7 separate regions of the Homo sapiens genome follow, and regions 2, 3, 4, 5, 6 and 7 are each linked to region 1. Evidence: promoter capture Hi-C in 16 types of primary human blood cells and fetal thymus (Javierre and others, 2016). All regions are on one chromosome and are shown on one strand. Each heading gives the region's core, a stretch centred on a gene start or on the middle of the fragment in contact. The rest is flanking DNA. Distances are from core to core; before and after follow the strand shown. Region 1 holds the start of LINC02551 (long intergenic non-protein coding RNA 2551). Region 2 overlaps PRDM10 (PR/SET domain 10). Region 3 overlaps PRDM10 (PR/SET domain 10). Region 4 overlaps PRDM10 (PR/SET domain 10). Region 5 has its middle 9.4 kb from the start of ST14. Region 6 overlaps ST14 (ST14 transmembrane serine protease matriptase). Region 7 overlaps ST14 (ST14 transmembrane serine protease matriptase).

The links. The method cuts DNA at HindIII sites, captures the fragments that hold promoters and counts their contacts. A CHiCAGO score of 5 or more calls a contact.
Region 2: a contact is called between a fragment that was not itself captured here and the fragment with the promoter of LINC02551 in region 1, in 2 of 17 cell types (total B cells and naive B cells). The highest score is 7.2, in total B cells.
Region 3: a contact is called between a fragment that was not itself captured here and the fragment with the promoter of LINC02551 in region 1, in 2 of 17 cell types (naive B cells and total B cells). The highest score is 8.9, in naive B cells.
Region 4: a fragment that was not itself captured here is called in contact with the fragment with the promoter of LINC02551 in region 1 in 2 of 17 cell types (total B cells and naive B cells); the score reaches 6.3 in total B cells.
Region 5: a contact is called between a fragment that was not itself captured here and the fragment with the promoter of LINC02551 in region 1, in 1 of 17 cell types (naive CD8 T cells). The highest score is 5.1, in naive CD8 T cells.
Region 6: a contact is called between a fragment that was not itself captured here and the fragment with the promoter of LINC02551 in region 1, in 1 of 17 cell types (total CD8 T cells). The highest score is 6.8, in total CD8 T cells.
Region 7: a contact is called between a fragment that was not itself captured here and the fragment with the promoter of LINC02551 in region 1, in 4 of 17 cell types (total B cells, neutrophils, erythroblasts and 1 more). The highest score is 6.7, in total B cells.

The regions. Positions count from the first base shown.
Region 1 is chr11:130,860,839-130,863,386 of GRCh38, forward strand. It overlaps LINC02551 (long intergenic non-protein coding RNA 2551), which reads right to left and starts at 1,272. Exons shown (of 6, transcript NR_125383.1): 1 at 1,128-1,272; 2 at 938-990. RefSeq lists enhancers at 633-1,133, 1,134-1,634. The HindIII fragment of the contact is 6,813 bases long and covers 931-2,548 here.
Region 2 is chr11:129,899,314-129,901,861 of GRCh38, forward strand. It overlaps PRDM10 (PR/SET domain 10), which reads right to left. Exons shown (of 21, transcript NM_199437.2): 21 at 398-2,548. Among named protein-coding and RNA genes, the nearest start is that of NFRKB, 5.0 kb to the left of the region's middle. The HindIII fragment of the contact is 1,898 bases long and covers 332-2,229 here.
Region 3 is chr11:129,915,993-129,918,540 of GRCh38, forward strand. It overlaps PRDM10 (PR/SET domain 10), which reads right to left. Exons shown (of 21, transcript NM_199437.2): 14 at 2,547-2,548; 15 at 1,135-1,245. Among named protein-coding and RNA genes, the nearest start is that of NFRKB, 22 kb to the left of the region's middle. The HindIII fragment of the contact is 1,046 bases long and covers 750-1,795 here.
Region 4 is chr11:129,933,309-129,935,856 of GRCh38, forward strand. PRDM10 (PR/SET domain 10) reads right to left here. Exons shown (of 21, transcript NM_199437.2): 9 at 1,793-1,910. Among named protein-coding and RNA genes, the nearest start is that of NFRKB, 39 kb to the left of the region's middle. The HindIII fragment of the contact is 2,948 bases long and covers 1-2,548 here.
Region 5 is chr11:130,149,147-130,151,694 of GRCh38, forward strand. No RefSeq gene overlaps it. Among named protein-coding and RNA genes, the nearest start is that of ST14, 9.4 kb to the right of the region's middle. The HindIII fragment of the contact is 3,598 bases long and covers 1-2,548 here.
Region 6 is chr11:130,166,430-130,168,977 of GRCh38, forward strand. All of the region lies in intron 1 of ST14 (ST14 transmembrane serine protease matriptase), which reads left to right. Among named protein-coding and RNA genes, the nearest start is that of ST14, 7.9 kb to the left of the region's middle. The HindIII fragment of the contact is 771 bases long and covers 900-1,670 here.
Region 7 is chr11:130,191,371-130,193,918 of GRCh38, forward strand. The region is part of intron 7 of ST14 (ST14 transmembrane serine protease matriptase); the gene reads left to right. Among named protein-coding and RNA genes, the nearest start is that of ST14, 33 kb to the left of the region's middle. The HindIII fragment of the contact is 2,906 bases long and covers 1-2,548 here.

The DNA.
Region 1 (2,548 bases), core at 22-2,521:
ATGGAGTGGAGAGTGTGTGACAAGGTGAAGCAGCCCAGACAGAAGTGCCAGCACCACCATCCACTAATTGGGTGACCTCAGCCATGCACCCGAGCTCTGGGCCTCATCTTTCCCATCTATAACATGTGGGCATGTACCTTTGTTTTGGCAAATAAATGACAATATATGCTTTTAGAAACTGGTGGCTACTAATCTTATGTAAAGAATGTGTGTATTTATCTTGCCAAATAAATATATGGTTGCTCTTCAATTTCGGATCATGACAAGTCGATATCATAACGAATTTGTTGTATTTCTTGGTCAGGGAAGAAGGAGAGAGAAAAAAACCAGTGCCTAGTGATGACGCCAAGTCAAGGTAAAACCTGGCCAAGGGTGGACCTGGCTCCAGTGTCTCTTCCAGTTCTCCTTCACCCTGGGGATTACTCATTTATCTCTATGAATGCAGATTTATGGACCTATAAATGAATATATGTGTTAGGGCCACCATTGCTTGTTGTAACTCCACAAAGCATGTTGACCACAAAACCTATTGAGGGCCATAGGGGCCCAGCCTGCAACGCAGCCCATCTGCTCCCTGCATCCTCATCCACCGCCTTCCTTACCACCGCCCACCCACATGCCAGCACTGCCGCGCGGCCTCTGCTCCGGCCGTCCCTTGGCCTACACTGCCTTTTCCTAATCTTTCCCAAGTTGACTCCTAACACCTTTTAAGACTGCCTAGAATCACCGGGAAGGCTTCGCTGGCCCACCCCTGCCCGCCCAGCTTCCCCAGGCTGGGGGAAGTCCTTCTTCTGGGGGCTTCCGTGTGCACCTCTGTGCCTCCACGTCCCTCCTCACACGGTGACTTTCCGATGATGCGCCTGCCTCCCCTGTCCATGGATAATGAATTCACCCAGGACAGGGCTTTGTCTTTTTCATTCCTGAATCCGAAGCTTACCTGCTACTAGAGAATTTGTGAATTTCCGTTGAACACGTGGAAGACCTAGGAAGCTGTGGGGGAGAAAGAATGAATGACTTTCTTCAAGGCCTCCTGGCAAAGCAGCAGTGCAGCGGGAACCGGAGCCGGAGGACGCTGGCTCCTCACCTAGAGCCCTCCCTTGGGTCAGGGTGGCTCTTCTCTCCCATACCTAGCGTCCGGCGCTTGGCTTTGTTTCCCGGAGTGGGTGGCACTGTTTGGCCGCCACAGGCACAGCATCGCCCCTAGGCATCGCCCTCCGCACCCGGGGATGCGGCGTCCCCAGCCTTGCCTTTCTTGATGGCTAAAGCAACAGCGCCACCTTCCGGCCTCAAGGCCACCGGGCGTGGCCGGACTTGGGAGACCTTGGGCGCCCTCTTGTGGAATTTCAGAAGTTGGGCTGCGAAAATGACTCCGTTATCCCCAGCTGACCATGAGGCCCGCTGGGCACTTCCACCTCTGAGGTTTGAGTGGTTCAGTGGGCCTGTGCAGGGAAACCCAGCCTAGAAAGCAAGCCTTTATAGCTACCTTGGTGTAGAAGATCAGAGGCATATGAGGTGAGAAACAGGTGACATGTCACGCTCCCTGGAGACAAAATGTCCAGAAAGCTCCTCTAGGCAGCAAATAAAGAAGTTATGAAAAGGAACCGTGGAGAAAAAAGAGGTGAAGGGAAAAGAAAGGGAATGTTATTCTGACCCACATGCCTCACCGCCAGGGCTGAAGTCACTACTAACAAGGCCATTTAGGAAGAGCAGGCTGGAGTTGACAGCCTTTCCCCAGGAGTCCTCTGGTTTCCAGGTCCCCCGGTTTGAAGCACTCAGGAACACACTCAGCCCCTGAATCTTCACTCAGTTCCGTGGTGTTACTGGCAATCGTTGGATATCCCTGGCTGGGGCTCAGCCTCAGCTCCGGTGTCAGCTACATAAGAATCTCAGCATCTTGGGAACGTGAGCTCAACTTGAAATACACTTCCCTGAAAGGATTACTTTGTTTTGGGACAAGGCTCATATCAATCTGTCCTGCCAAGAGATTACTGCTGTTAAACTGTTGGTTTTCACTGCTGTCAAACATAATCTTACAAGGAGAGAGAGGGGCAATCACCCTCAACACCCAGCTGCAAGAGAAGACTTTTGACTGGGCAGGACTTTTCCTGGCACTCTCTGGAGAATAAAAAAGGAATATGTAGAATGGCTGTTGTGTGATTAATGCTTACACCCACAGTGCGGCTGAGCCATTCCCAGGGGTGCACTGAGTGGGATCCCTCTACATGCAACGACCCTGCTGGCATTTCACAGGTGCCTGTGGAGAAGGCCCATTGAAGACCTGGGGCTGAAAGTGCAGCTCAACTTTGCACATATGCTTGGATTTCCTCTCTATTCCAAGGCAGACAGTCCTCAGGGTTTGGCCTAACACACAAAGGATGGGAAGAATAAAGAAACGATGTTCCAACAGTATTTCTGCAGATCTAAGCTACTGAAGGGATGCTGGACCAACCACGATAGATGCTTCCTTTTCCGCAGTGCCTCGAAAAACACTTAGGAGTGTGAAGGAGTGAAATTTTATGCTATTGGCCTTGTTCTCATTTACTTTTGA
Region 2 (2,548 bases), core at 31-2,530, 960 kb before region 1:
GTCTCCCTTGACCCCCCCTCCAGTGACTGAGTTCCCTGGAGTTTTTAACCTCTCAGATTTCTCCACGCTGAGCCTGCAGCAATTCATCAAATATAGTTCAAGTTTTCCTACCCTGGCGCTGGTTCTCATAGAGGTTATTGATCGTGGATTTTTTTCTCACGGGTTTCTGTTCAATAAGCTATGATTCTCTGTATTTGCCTGTTTGTCTTTCCAATTTTGGGGACAGCAGTTTGTCCTGTGGGCTCAACTTTCTGATGGATCTAAGGAGAGATGTTGATCTTTCCATTTGCTCAGCTTCTTACTTATTGCTAGGATGGAGGGACAACTTCCAAGCTTCCTGTATGCCACGCTGGAAACCAAAAGTTGCAATTCTTCAAAGAAAAAAAAATAGCTCTTGTAGCTTCACACATACAAACATGTTTATTAAAAAATATATTTATTAATTTTTACACCTGCTGCATAGCACAAGACTATTAACACTATAACTCACTGAATGTACAATAAATGTTCACATTTAAATAACAGGATAGGGTCAACATTTTCAACCAGTGGGTCAGCTTTAGCATCTCATGAAGTGCTTTTTAGACCTAGATATCTTAAGAGTTTTTTTGAAAGGATACTTCCAAGTCAGAAAACAAGAAGATCAAAACAATAGGTTTTTCCAGAATAACAGGAATTTTACATGATGAAATGTCTATTTCTGTCGGTACAAATCAATGATAAAAACAAAATCTACATCCAACCTACTCCAAAATACTCACACTGGACTGAATGAAGTCTACAGTGTCAATGTGTCTTGAGAGAGGCCACAATATCCACACTGGCTACATACATGTTTTCCAAATTAAGTTTTCTGATGGCTCATCATTTGCCATCTCTTCAAATCCAGGTCCTTTTAAAAATCTATGACCTTGGAATGAATGTGCAGAATACCTGATCTGAAAGCCATGCGATTTGGCTCGACTGCCATCCGCATCTCTGGCTGATAATATACAAATTAGTTTTAGAGTCTTTATTTCACTTAAGGACCAAAGAAGAAGAAGAAGAAGAAGAAGAAGAAGACAACTTAGAAGGGAAAGCAACAAAGAGGTCCTTCCACAATATTTTCCTCTGTGTATTTTAAAACTTAAAACAACTGCCATAAAATGAACATTCCATTCAGTGATTCTTTTCAGTTTTCCAATAAGTTATTCCTGAAGGGAGGGGAGATACCTTATGGTTCAAATTAAAAAGAACGTAACAGGGCCAAATTTAAGTTATAAAAGCTAAAACTGAACCTTTAGAAAATTCCACTAGTCTTCTCCTAGAAAGTCTTTCTAGACCGGACACTAGGATATTTGTAATCATTACACTGTGGGACTTAGGGAACCCGAACCTGTGTTTTGCAATGCAGGGTCAATATTTTCTGTTGAATATCTTTGTCACAAAGAGAGTCCATTTTCAGTTTCCATATGTTTATGAAGTAATTTTCTCAAGTTCTCTTAGTACTCAAACATTGGGGAACAACTACATGAACGCAGTCTCAGAAATAAAGTGCGAAATCTACACATCAATAAAGTTCTTTTAACAGAATTGTTCACTTTTCAGAAAATTGTCTTTATCATAAAGAAGCTACTCTACTTAATTTATAGAACCAGTTTTTACCCAGAAATGTAAATTAATTAACTTCATTTGAAATGAAGTAAGGTCTTTCTGTTCTGGAGTAATAAATTCTACTATGCAATAATTATTCTGAAAATGTGTTAGCATGTCACAAAAAGTTAAAATATATACTGATTTTTTAATGCCCAACTAATAGTATATTCATAAAGACTGGATTTCTTCCAGATCCCTTATAACTACCTGAATTATTAGAAGTGGCCATCACATTTTAATTTTTTCCCTAAGTGTGAAGTTGACCGTCTTATTAAAAGGTCTAGATGAGTCACAATATGTTTAAAGTTAAAAATGTTAATAAATAAGAAATGCCACCTTCCTGTCCAACTTTAAAGAATGTTCATTTTAAGACAGCATTAAAAGTAATAAAATACACTGAACATGTCAGCAAGAGTTAAATGTACACTTGGTAAGAACAAGGAATATATCCTTTACCAATGAATGATAAATGGATCCTGCAAGGCAGAACAAAATTTCAATACTTTCTCTCTCTCTCTCTCAATAGTTTTGGAAATTTTTCTTGGTACCAATATCTCCTTCTTACCACCACCACAACCACAGAATGGGAGGCAAAGCTTTAATGTAGGGGTTTAGATTCTGCTGACATCAAGCAGCCTTTTCTCTTTCAGGTTGTCCACCTTTGTGAAATAATGAAGAACTATCAGAACATGAGCTTCTGACCTAATCCACTGAGGACCAGCATCTGTGGAAAGCACTACCAACAGCCCAACAATAGTTTTCTAAAATAGGGAAGTTAAAAAAAATCAGCAAGAAAAATTTAGATGACAGTTTTTGCTTCAGAATATCACTGTCAAACTTTTGTTTCATCATTTTAATTTTGTTATTCAGCAGGCTCCCTTTGTTAAATTACTGAAAACTAAAACAAGATAAA
Region 3 (2,548 bases), core at 23-2,522, 940 kb before region 1:
ATATTAACAGATCTATTGAAGAGCAAGGATATACTACAAATTAGAATAAAATAAGAACATAATGTAGATATGATAGGTTTCTTTCTTTAATCTATAAATCTAAGATAATAACTGTGAAAATACCCTTTATCCTAAAGTTTAAAATTTGGATATGATACACAGACAGAGGAAGATAATTGTTTTTAAGGCCCATCCACCTCATATGAGAGCTGCCTGTGAAAGCTCTCATATGATGTACGCAGCTGAAGACCAGGAGCCAGAGAATCTTCCAAATGGCAACGTCAATAGCAACTGCTATCTATAGTGGGGAATCTATGTTAAAAAATGTTTCTCACTTTTAAGCTGATATAGCTACATTATATAAGGAAAGGATGGCTGGGTGTGGTGGCTCATGCCTATAATCCCAGCACTTTGGGAGGCCGAGGCGGGCGATCACCTGAGGGTGGATCATCCTGGCCAACATGGTGAAACCCTGTCTCTACTAAAAATACAAAAATTAGTTGGGCGTGGGGGCTGGCGCCTGTAATCCCAGCTACTCCAGAGGCAGAGGCAGGAGAATCGCTTGAACCCAGGCGGAAGTTGCAGTGAGCTGAGATCATGCCACTGCACTCCAGCCTGTGTAACAGAGCAAGACTCCATCTCAAAAAGTAAGAAAGGATATTACAGTGGAATAATAAATATATATTCTGTGTCTTTTCTGTAACTACATGAAAATAATGCAATAGTACAAGTAGAGTACTCCACCACAAAGCTTTCCCAACCCCCTCCACCTTATAGAAACCCCAAAACTACCATATATGTTATAGGTCATGATAAATGCTCTCATTTTAGAGCCTAGGAATTTGAAATTAATTCATACACTAAGCACTAGTAATAAACCTCTTCTTGTGTAACAAAAATCACAGAGAGAAGGGACAGTAAGAAAAATGAAGTCAACTATTTCTTAAGAAAAAAATTTGGCTTAAAATAAGGCTGTATTTCTAGTCCTTTCTTGTCTGAATGGAGACTACTGAGAGACAGGTAACCATCTGGTAAGAGTAACAAAAAAATCGTAGTATATATTTATAAATACGGACAAGTCAGCTCTAAGCAGGGAACCCCAGTGGCATACCAATATGAATATTTCCCTTTTACCTTATCGCAATACTGACAAAAGTAATCACGATTGGGTTTTATGATGGGTAGAGTTAACTCTGGCACCTCTTCTATCTTCATGTCTGGGTGTCTCTTCGATAAGTGATTTACCTAAAGGGAAAAGAAAGAACCAATGAGAAAAAGAGACCCCATTAACCAAACAGAAGCTACACGAATGCCTCTGATAATGACCGCCAGAAGCTGGAATTCTCTGAAGCAATGCCCCCAAATAATAAGGCATTTGGCCAGAACCAGGATCACCAGACCCCATCTGATGCCAAAGCACTCACAGTCATGGTTAACAGGAGTTAACAATAATTCACCAAACAATTGAAGGTGACTCACTGTGGTGAATTCAGCCATCAACAGTCTTTGGCTGAAAGAACTACTATTGGAAAAAGGAAAATTACACTGGTATGAATTTCTTTGGTGAGTTCTCCTCATGCAAACCTGTCTTTCATTATTTAATGCCCTAGTCTTACTAAGAACATGGAATGAGATACAGACTAAGGTTCTGAATTTTAAATATTGCTCTATGACTTTCCAGCACCTGGCAGAAATATATTCTGCACCCGTAACAAGGTCAAAATGAGTTGAGAGCAGAGCACTGGCTGTCTGATGCTTCAGCTAACCTGGATGCACATACCCTGCTTTGACGGAAAGCTTCCTTCTACTGCTGTTTGATATCTGGAAAAGAGAGGCATTAAAAGGAAACAGCTGGGGGCTGGGTGCAGTGGCTCACGCCTGTAATCCCAGCATTCTGGGAGGCTGAGGCAGGTGGATCACCTGAGGTCAGGAGTTTGAGACCAGCCTTGCCAAAATGGTGAAACCCCGTGTCTACTAAAAATACAAAAATTAGCCAGGCATGGTGGTGGGCACCTGTAATCCCAGCTACTCAGGAGGCTGAAGCAGGAGAATCGCTTGAACCTGGGAGGGGGAGGTTGCAGTGAGCTGAGATCACGCCATTTCACTCCAGCCTGGGCAACAGGAGCGAAATTCTGTCTCAAAAATAAATAAATAAAATAAAAGGGAACAGCTGGGGAGAAGGCAAATACCCCATTAAAAAAATACATTCAGGGACACAAAAGAGGGAACTAAAATAAGGTGAGAGCAGAGATTGAGATGGGTAAAGAAAAACAAAAGTAGTAATGAAAAGTGATTAAAAAAAAAAAAAGAAAAAGAAAAAGACCTCTTACAAGAATTGATCCAAAAAGCAGCAAGAGAGAGCAAAGGGAGACTAGAAAAGACAGAACTCCAAATTGGGAATCGTTTGCCTCTGTTTCTTCCCCTGGACATTGACAAAACCATTGATCGATATAACTTAGGACACAATGCAACACAAACGTCACCATCATCGACAGCAATGAGGTATGCTGGGAAGACAGAGGAACCCGCAGCCACTGGGCACTGACCA
Region 4 (2,548 bases), core at 35-2,534, 930 kb before region 1:
CCATAACCCAATTCCAACATTTTTCAAACCATGGCCAACATTTTCCATCTATATCCCCACCACTTGCCCACACACATACCCAGTAGATGACTTGGAAGCAAATCCCAGATATCTTTTCATCTCTAGATATCTTGGCATGTCTCTCTGAATCATAAGAACTCTTTATATATATATGACCACAATACCATTATCACACCTGAGAAATATCTGAGAGTTGCTGAGTATTATTATATCTAGTCAAAGTTCAAATCTTCCTAGTTGTCCCAGGTTTCTCTTAACAGTTGGCTAACAAACATATTACCTACTGTGTATCACATACTGGGCTAGGCACTAAGGACATCAGATTACAGGCAACAGATTTTACCCTCAGGGGTCTAGAAAAGGGAGCTGGCATATAAACCAAAAATCACAATATAATATAAAAAATGCTACAATAGAGCCATGAACAGAGTTTTGGAGATTCCCAGGAGTGACTCAAATCTCACTGTGTCCACCCCCTCCTTAGACATTTACCCCTGTGGTCACATTCTAGACCCTGTCACCCTTGTAAGCCTCTTCATGCCAATCCCATGCACTGCCCACTCGGACACTACCCTGGCTCTGTAGTTTACTCCCTCTAGTACCCAGCACTCAGCAACCCTTCAGCCACGCGAGCATCTCCAGTTCAATCCTTCCGGTGCTTTCGTGCAGCTCTGCATCACTGCCTTGATGTTCTCTCCCCTTCTTCCACAGCATACGCTCCAAGGTCATCCACTGGAACCACTCCCTCGTGCGTGCTCTCAGTTCCCATCCCATGGCTGCTCTGTTTTCTCAATGTGTGTTATGAGCACTTGGCAAAGCCACAACCCTGTGTAATTCAATTCCCTGCCTGCTCTGCACCAGCATCCCTGCAGCTGAATGAAGCTGGAGAAAACGCACAGCCATGCTAGTGGGCTCACTTTCATTTCATAACCATGAACCCCAAGTGGGCATTTAATAGAGTGGGCAATTGTATGGTACTTCCCTAGAACATTCGCTTTCCCACTTACCCAACTACCATCTCACACATCTCCTCTCTTTCCAAACCCTAGAAAAGCTGGCAACCCTACATCTGTCCCCCTGGCATGAGCCTACTCCAAACCACCCTCATTCCTCCCCCAAACTATTGTGATAGATGCTAACAGGACTCCTTGTCTTCACTCTTACTCTAATATAAGCTAGTGATTATTTTTTTCCAGGTGTTATTTTTATCCAAAATGGTTTTCAAAAAAAAAATACAATCAACATCACAATACTCCCCGACCAAAACCCTCTAAAGACTTCTCATCACACTTGGAATAAAATCTAAATTTCTTACCATTTCCCATAAGGCCCTACCTGATCTGGCCCCTGCCCACTTCATCCCATATGATTCTCCCCTCATCTGTCTTTTTTATATAGTGGAATTAAACATATGACTTGGTTTGATTAAGTAATTGTACTGCTGAAAAAAGTCTGAAAATCAGAGATGCAGATTATTTTAAAGGTATGTCCTATCTCAAAAATTCCTATTTCGGAATCTCCAATTAAGGGAGATTTACCTAAGGTGAAAGCATCTCCCATTGCTGGGTATTGGTTATGCTGGAAAAGATGGATAATAGTAAATGAGGAGCAGAGGGAAAAGGAGATGACAGGTAACACCGTTCCCTCAGTAGCCCACCTGGTTACCTATCTATACATGACACTCGGAGACACTCATTAGCTAGTGGACAATATAGAAATGATTCTGAACCTTTATGAACTCAGTCTGTGAGCATTTCTCCCTCATACATACCTGCTAAACACATCTAGTTTCTCATCATGAGAATTGAGATGCTGTTGCAACTGCTCCGAGCTTATAAATCGGCGGTTACATTCATAGCAGGGCCAATTCTTCTCTTGCTCTCGAAGAACTACAGTCACAGGAGAGAAATCATAAAGGCTGATGACCAATAGACACCAGTAAAACTCAAAAGTCTGCGATCCCCACCATTCTTATCTTGCTGCAGCCCAAAGAGTTCATAACTATATAGTATCTGCTATTTGCATTACTGTTCTATCAAATCAAAAGCTAAAATTTGGCAGAGAGTTGCTTTTTAGGATCTTATTTTCTAATGCATCCATACAAGACATCAAAGGAACAAGTACCCTCACATCACCCTCTCACAGTCCTCAAAACACACACACAACTTCACCACACCGAAAACACATAAGATGTTACAAAGATCTGTGTTCAGATAACCTAGCGATTCAGACCCAGGTTTCCTAATCTGAGGGTATATTTTAGCACAAATAACTTAAAAGTCAATGCCCAGTATAATTAGTTTAGCAAAATGTTCAGAAGCATCCCCTAAGTTGAATATAGGCATATCCATGACCCAGCAACTCCACTCCTACATACATACCCAACAGAAATGTGCACATATGTTCACTAAAAGACATATAAGAATGCTCACAGCAGCACTCTTCAAAATAGCCAAAAACTAGAAACAATCTCATCATGTAATAAGGAATCTTCCTGGTCTTTGTCCCTAGTTGGTAACCTTTAAGT
Region 5 (2,548 bases), core at 28-2,527, 710 kb before region 1:
ATGTGCAGTCAATTATACCTCAATCAAGCTGCTTTTAGTTTAGTTTTGTTTTCTGCTGTGTGTGTGTGTGTGTGTGTGACGGAGTCTCGCTCTGTCGCCCAGGCTGGCTCACTGCAGCCTCCGCCTCCTGGGTTCAAGAGATTCTCCTGCCTCAGCCTCCCTCGTGGCTGAGACTACAGGTGCCCACCACCACACCTGGCTAATTTTTGTACTTTTGGTAGAGATGGGGTTTCCGCATGTTGGCCAGGCTGGTCTCAAACTTCTGATCTCAAGTGATCCACTTGCCTCAACCTCCCAAAGTGCTGGGACTACAGGCGTGAGCCATTGCTCCTGGCAAGAAAAAAAAATATTTGTATTTCGTGAGCAGAAAAATCTACGTATATTACACTATGAGTGGAGCTACATTAGAAACATCTGTGCTTTCATCCAAACCTCCCATACTCTAAAGGTGGTTTTTTACTTGTTTCTTCAAATCTGTGTATCTTCTAACAGTATTTACTGACAGAAGAATGGACTATAGTGTTGCCATATCCTTTTCTGTGGTTTTTGTTTGTTTGTTTTGAGACGGAGTCTCACTCTGTCGCCCAGGCTGGAGTGCAGTAGCGCGATCTCGGCTCACCGCAACCTCTGCCTCCCAGGTTCAAGCAATTCTTCTGCCTCAGCCTCCCGAGTAGCTGGGACAACAGGCACCCACCATCACGCCTAGCTAATTTTTATATTTTTAGTGGAGACGGGGGTTTCACCATATTGGCCAGGCTGGTCTCAAACTCCTGACCTCGTGATCTGTCTGCCTCGGCCTCCCAAAGTGCTGGGATTACAGGCGTGAGCCACTGTGCCCAGCCTTCTGTGTATTATTTCAGCCACTTTTCCTGTGGCAAGAAAAAGTGATTCCACCATGGTTTATGGCTTTTTGCTTTTAGCATTTAATGAAGAAATCTCAAGCTGTGCATTTATCATTTCTTAATGAAACTTTGTAAATTACTAAATCGAGTATTGCATGACTTTAAGCACTGAAGAGATTGTAGTGGCTTGTCTTCATGTACTGGGCATTTAAAGTTTAAGTCTCATTAATCACATTGGCCTCATAATATTAGTTAATACCTCAAGACCCAACATACATTTACAGTGAAGAATATCACTATTAATAGTAAATGTAAATCCATGGTCTTAATAATTGAAACTGTTTGGGGAATGACTTCTTAGATGGTAAATGTTTTCAGCTGATGACTGAGCTCAGAATGTAAACAAGGGAATCAGCGGACTTTGATTTTAATGAAACCTGTGTATACCCCACGCGACACCCTGGGCCAGGGAGCAGGCTGGGCCAGAACTACACATATTAGATGGAAGGAGGGATGAACTTGGATGTGCTGATGATGTGGACAGGGCAGAGGAAGTCAGAGAAACACAGAGCATCAAACAAGTGGCCCACAGTGAAATGCATTTCCAGAACACACTCCCAGACTCGACTCACATTTCCGTGCATCTGCATTTACCCAGTTTAGGGACACTCCAGTGTCTCTTGAACAACCCTCTTAGATTTGGAGACTTTCCATCTTTTGAGTCCTGCCTACCTCAGGCAGAAACCAGAACTCTCCTTCTCAGCTCCCTTGTAGGTAGGGCACAGACATGTAACTTAGGATCTAATGAGATGCACTCACAAGAGACTTACTCAAGAGGCCACAAAGAAAGGACGCAGGCACTGCAGTGAGCCCACTTTCTGGTGGGATGCAGGTGGAAGCGTCCTGCTCCTGGGACGGCAGCGGCACTGGTGAGTGGGTCTGGGCTCAGGGGATGAGCTCTGATGGTATCAGCTTGGGCGGGAGCAGTGGGGCTGTCCCTGCAGCCTTGTGGTGTGTCTGGGGCCTTGTTTCTGGCTCTGTTTCCTCCTCTCTCAGCTCTCTGGCCCTCCTAGACATTCTGTGAACCGCCTAACAATTTTAAAATAATTTCCTTTTTTTCCCCTCAAATTAGCTATTCTATTGTTCGTGAGCTGCAAGTTGACAAAAATTCCACTAAGGGCCAACTCACTGAACTCTAATGGGAAAGTTGTACCTGTTGCCTTCATTTGATAAAGGAGACAGAGTTTTTTTTAAAAAAAGTGATGTGAGAACAAGAATTATCAGTGTGAAAAAGAAAATACAGATCTCAGCTCGAATAAGTCAGTACTCTGTGGTCCTAAATTAGAATTGGGAGAATCAATATGAACATGATGGGTGTTTTATCTCTTTCACAAAGTTCTGGCTTTGTCTACCAAAAGCCCCAGAAACAAAGACCAGCTAGAAATGAACATCCCCTTAGAGGATCACTTTTCACTAAAAGCTATTAGGTTGTCTTAAAGAAACAGCTGATTGCATGTGTGGGCAGGAAAAGTACAAGTTGAAACTGCAACATCATACCAGAAAATAAACAAAAAATCAAAGATGACAAGAATTGGGTCAAAAGGACTCAGAGCTGACTTAAAGAAGGTCCCAATGGCCAAAGAGGGTACACTTTGAACATCAGTAAGAATAAAAACAGCAATGAACCCAGACATATCAAATATGTT
Region 6 (2,548 bases), core at 35-2,534, 690 kb before region 1:
TCTGTTCTTGAATCCACGTCACTTTGGGTGGTGACCTCAGGCTGCTCGTCACCCCTTCCTGGGTTCTGTGCCATTTCTTATTTAGTAACAGCTCAGATGAGGACTTGGGGCATTTGCCTACCAGCTCCACAGATGACACCAGCTGGGAGGGAAAGGCTGATACCTTGTATGACTTGATTATGAGTCAGAGCATCTGGACAGACTGTCTGATAGGCTGCGCTGAGCAGAATGCATCCGTCTGGGTCAGGAGTCAGTGCTTTGCTCACTGAACCACCTCCCTCAACCATGGAGCAGAAACCACGAGACCCAGAGTTCTGAGTTGACAGTGAGCCCAGGAGAGATCAGGCATGGAAGTGTGACTGCCCAAAGTCGAAGTGTGCTTTCTTCCCCCTATGTTTTTATTTGGTTATACCTTTTAAAGTTATTATTAAAAGTCTAATATATACATATTTAAAGAAAACTTAGCCAACTCAGATAAGTAGTAAGAATTTAAAAATGAGGCCGGGTGCGGTGGTTCATGCCTGTAATCCCAGCACTTTGAGAGGCCAGGGCCGATGGATCACTTGAGGTCAGGAGTTCAAGACTAGCCTGGCCAACATGGTGAAACCCCATCTCCACTAAAAATCCAAAAATTAGCCAGGCATGGCGGTGGGCACCTGTAATCCTAGCTACTCAGGAGACTGAGAGAGGAGAATCACTTGAACCTGGGAGGTGGAGGTTGCAGTGAGCCGAGATCGTGCCATTGCACTCCAGCCTGGGTGACAGAGCGAGACTCTGTCTCAAAAAAAATTTTTTTTAATAAAAATGACACAAATACCCCTACAAAGACATTTTAACAATTTGGTATTGCCTATGCATGTTTTCTAAAAAAATTTTTTTCCTCATTACCACATTTAGGAAGCTTTTCTTTTTGAAGTCACACAATATAGAAATGTACAGTGTAAAATGTGAAACTTCTGAAATTCCCTCTCCCAGATTTTAGAGCCTCTATAAATAGTTTTGTTTATATTCTCCCACAAGTCTTGTGTGTGTGTTCTGCTGTTTGTGTGCACACCTATTCTCCTCCAAATGGAATCATCACTAATTCCACTCTGCAGTAAAGATATGATTTTATTAATGAACTTATCAAACATTTATTAGATATCATACCTCATGCTAGATTTGTGGAGCAAGACAGACCCCCTTCCCTCCCCTATCACAGGAGTCTGGGAGGGAGGTGTTGGAGAGGGATCTCCCAGAATTACTCCAAGGAGATGCCTGAGCTGAATTTCGAAGGGCAGGAGTGACTATTTTTTTTTTTTCTGAGATAGGGTCTTGCTCTGTCGCCTAGGCTGGAGTGCAGTGGCGCGATCTCGGCTCACTGCAACCTCTGCCTCCCGGGTTTGAGCAATTCTCCTGCCTCAGCCTTCCAAGCAGCTGGAATTACAGGTGTGCGCCACTGCGCCAGGCTAATTTTTGTATTTTTAGTAGAGATGGCGGTTTCACCATATGGGCCAGGCTGGTCTTGAATCCTGGCCTCGAGTGGTCTACCTGCCTTGAACTCCCAAAGTGCTGGGATTGCAGGCATGAGCCACCGTGCCCAGCCTATTTTTTTCATTTAACATTCTATCTTAGATAGCTTTTCCATGTCATTATCTACTTTTTGAAAAACGATTTTTGATTGCCTTATAAGCTTTCATCGAGGGAACATATCATTCTTTCCATCTTCTTATTTTAATCGTTTTATTGTTTGGGTGTGTTACTTGAATGCATCATTGGACAATTAATAGAAAAAGAGCAAACAGAATGAGGAAGGTAATTGGCAAGCAGACCCTGTGGAGGCCACGCTAGTCAGACCTCTTGTGGGTTATGCTGGTGAATTCTGGAAACGGTGTCTTCAAGGGAAGATGACTAAGGGTGAGATGGAACCAGATGGCCAGGGTTTAGAAAACATTTTGTTTGAATGATCAGAGGAGTTGAGCATGTTTAGCCAGAGGAGGTGCAGACTGAGAGAGCACACGAGCACCGATGTAGAGCTTCCACTGGAGCGTCTCCTGAGTGGGGAAACTAGGCTGGTTCTGTTGCAGTGCTAATTAGTGCAGAGGTGATTGCAGTGCTGATCACACTTGGTGGAAGGAAGAGCTTCCTAATACTCGTACTAAGGAAAATGCTATTTCTTCCAAAAGGATGGTCTCGCGAGGATGAGAGGTGGGTGACATGCCCTGCAGAATCTGTCTCGGCTCTGAGAATCCAATTTCAAGGGTAGATCCAGCAGTTCTCCCCTCGCTTGTATCCTATTCCCCCAGGATAGAGTCTGGTTCTAATAGAGGACACAGACTTCCTGGTGCCCTCCCCTGGGGGTGGGGCCCCTCTGTTTGCATAGTTGGTCCTTTCCCCAAAACAGGTGCTCAGATTTGTAGCCATGGAAGCGTGTTTTAGAACTTACCCAGTTCTAGAGGCTGCAGGCAGGCTTGGGTTTTTCCCACTAGCTTCTGCAGATCCCTGGGTCCACCAAGTCAGAAACAGACTGTGGCACCTCCATGCCATGAAATATGACTCAGCACTGAAA
Region 7 (2,548 bases), core at 27-2,526, 670 kb before region 1:
AGGAATGAGGGGAAAATGTAAGCAAGAGCCTTTTATGGGCCGGGCATGGTGGCTCACGCCTGTAAGCCCAGCACTTTGGGAGGCCAAGGCGGCTGGATCACTTGCGGTCAGGAGTTTGAGACCAGTCAAGCCAACCTGGTGAAACCCTGTCTCTACTAAAAATACAAAAATCAGCTGGGTGTGGTGGCGGGCGCCTGTAATCCCAGCTACTCGGGAGGCCAAGGCGGGAGAATCACTTGAACCTGGGAGGCAGAGGTTGCAGTGAGCCGAGATCGTACCACTACACTCCAGCCTGGGCAACAGAGCGAGACTCTGTCTCAAAAAAAAAAAAAAAAAAAAAGAGCCTTTATATGGTTTACACAGAAAAGGCAAGACAAATCAGGGTGAGAGGTTTAGAACTGGCTTGTTTGAATAATTTCAGTAGGCTCCGGGGCATAGGAGCTGTCCCTAGTTCTCTGATACTTGGGCCTGGGGTGGTTAGGGCAAAGAATAGTGGCCCTGAGTGTGAGATCCTTTCGGAGGAGGTGGGGCTGGGCCCCCATAGGTGGGTTTGCATAGGGAAGGTTTGCTTGCAGGTGAGTCCTTTCCTATCTCTAAGCATTGGCCAGCCTTCCACAGTCAGCAGGGCCTCAGATGTCAAAGCACCTGCATTACAGAAAACGGAAAGGCGTGGTTAATGCACCTGTGGGATACCCCACGTCAGGGTGGGGCGTACCTCGCAGAGGTGCTGTGCGTGGTGGGTGAGCCGCCTCTCCTGCACTCGCTGGGCCAGAGCCTTCCGTGGCTGTCTAGGGAAATGAGCTCGGCGGACGTTTCCTGATTAATAATGGGCTAAAATTCAGGCCAAGAACAACCTAGAACCATCTGCCGCCACAGCTTCGTAACCAGGACTTCTTTTCCATCTCTCTAATTTATTAATTGTACAACAAAGAAGTACATGTTCCCAGTGGGAGAAGGAAATCGGCAAGCAAAAGGAAGACTAAAGTCACTCGTCATCTTACTGTCTAGAAATAACCACTGTTAATTCTTTTTCTTTGAGATGGAATCTCGCTCTGTCGCCCAGGCTGGAGTGCAGTGGCAAGATCTCGGCTCACCGCAACCTCCGCCTCCTGGGTTCATGCGATTCTCCTGCTTCATCCTCTCGAGCAGCTGGGATTACAGGCATGCGCCACAACACTCAGCTAATTTTTTTTGTATTTTTAGTAGAGATGGGGTTTTACCATGTTGGTCAGGCTGGTCTCGAACTCCTGACCTCAGGCAATCTGCCTGCCTTGGCCTCCCAAAGTACTGGGATTACAGGCGTGAGCCACAGCACCCGGCCAAATTTTTGATGTCTATTTTCCCAGCCTTTTTTGCTGTGTGTGTGTTAAGAAATAGGATTATCCCGTGCATTCAGTCTCATTACCTGCTTTAACAAATGAAGTATATTATGATGGTCTTTCCAAATCAGTCACCCTCTCTCTCAGGGTTTTTATAAGGTTGCATTGTTTAGAAGGAGGGGACACAATCAGGATGACATGGTTGTGAGCAGTGTGGACTCTGGAGCTTGAATGCCTGAGTTTAAATTCTAAGCCTGCCACTTATTAACCATGAGATGTTGGGCAAGTTACTGAACATCTCTGTGTCTCAGTTTCCTCACCTCTGAGATAGGGGTAATAGTATCTACTTCATAGAGCTGTTAGGAAGATTATGAGTTAATAGATTTAAAAGCACCGAGAACCATGCCAGGCATGTTTTTTTTTTTGAGTCTCCTTGTCACCCAGGCTGGAGTGCAGTGGCGCAATCATAGCTCACTGTAACCTTGAACTCCTGAGGCTCAAGCAGTTCTCTGGCCTTGCCCCGGAGTAGCTGGGACTGCAGGCAAGCGCCACCATGCCCAGCTAGTTTTTTTGATTATGGAGATGAGGCGTTACCCAGGCTGGTCTGAAACTCCTGGCCTCAAGCAATTCTCCTGCCTTGACCTCCCAACAGGCTGGGATTATAGGCCCGACCTTGGCATGTTCTTAATAAATGTTGATTGTTACTACTGCTGTTGTTCTGATTGAGCCCACAGTTTATTTAATAAATCCTCTGTTGTGGGCATGTATTGTGTCTAGGGTGTTGCTCTTTTTTTTTTTTTCTGACAGTCTCGCTGTGTCGCCCAGGCTGGAGTGCGGTGGTGCGATCTCGGCTCACTGCAACCTCCGCCTCCCGGGTTCCGGTGATTCTCCTGCCTCAGCCTCTGGAGTAGCTGGGATTACAGGCGTGCACCGTGATGCCCAGCTAATTTTTGTATCTTTAGTAGAGATGGGATTTCACCATGTTGGCCAGGCCGGTCTCGAACTCCTGACCTCAGGTGATTCACCCGCCTTGGCCTCCCAAAGTGCTGGGTTTATAGGCGTGAGCCACTGCGCCCGGCTGGGTGTTGCTCTTTGATTGTGACAAAGGTGAACTGTTTATCACTAGCGCCTTCCATCAGTGATTGTGACAAAGGTGAACTGTTTATCACTAGCGCCTTCCATCAGTGATTGTGACAAAGGTGAACTGTTTATCACTAGCGCCTTCCATC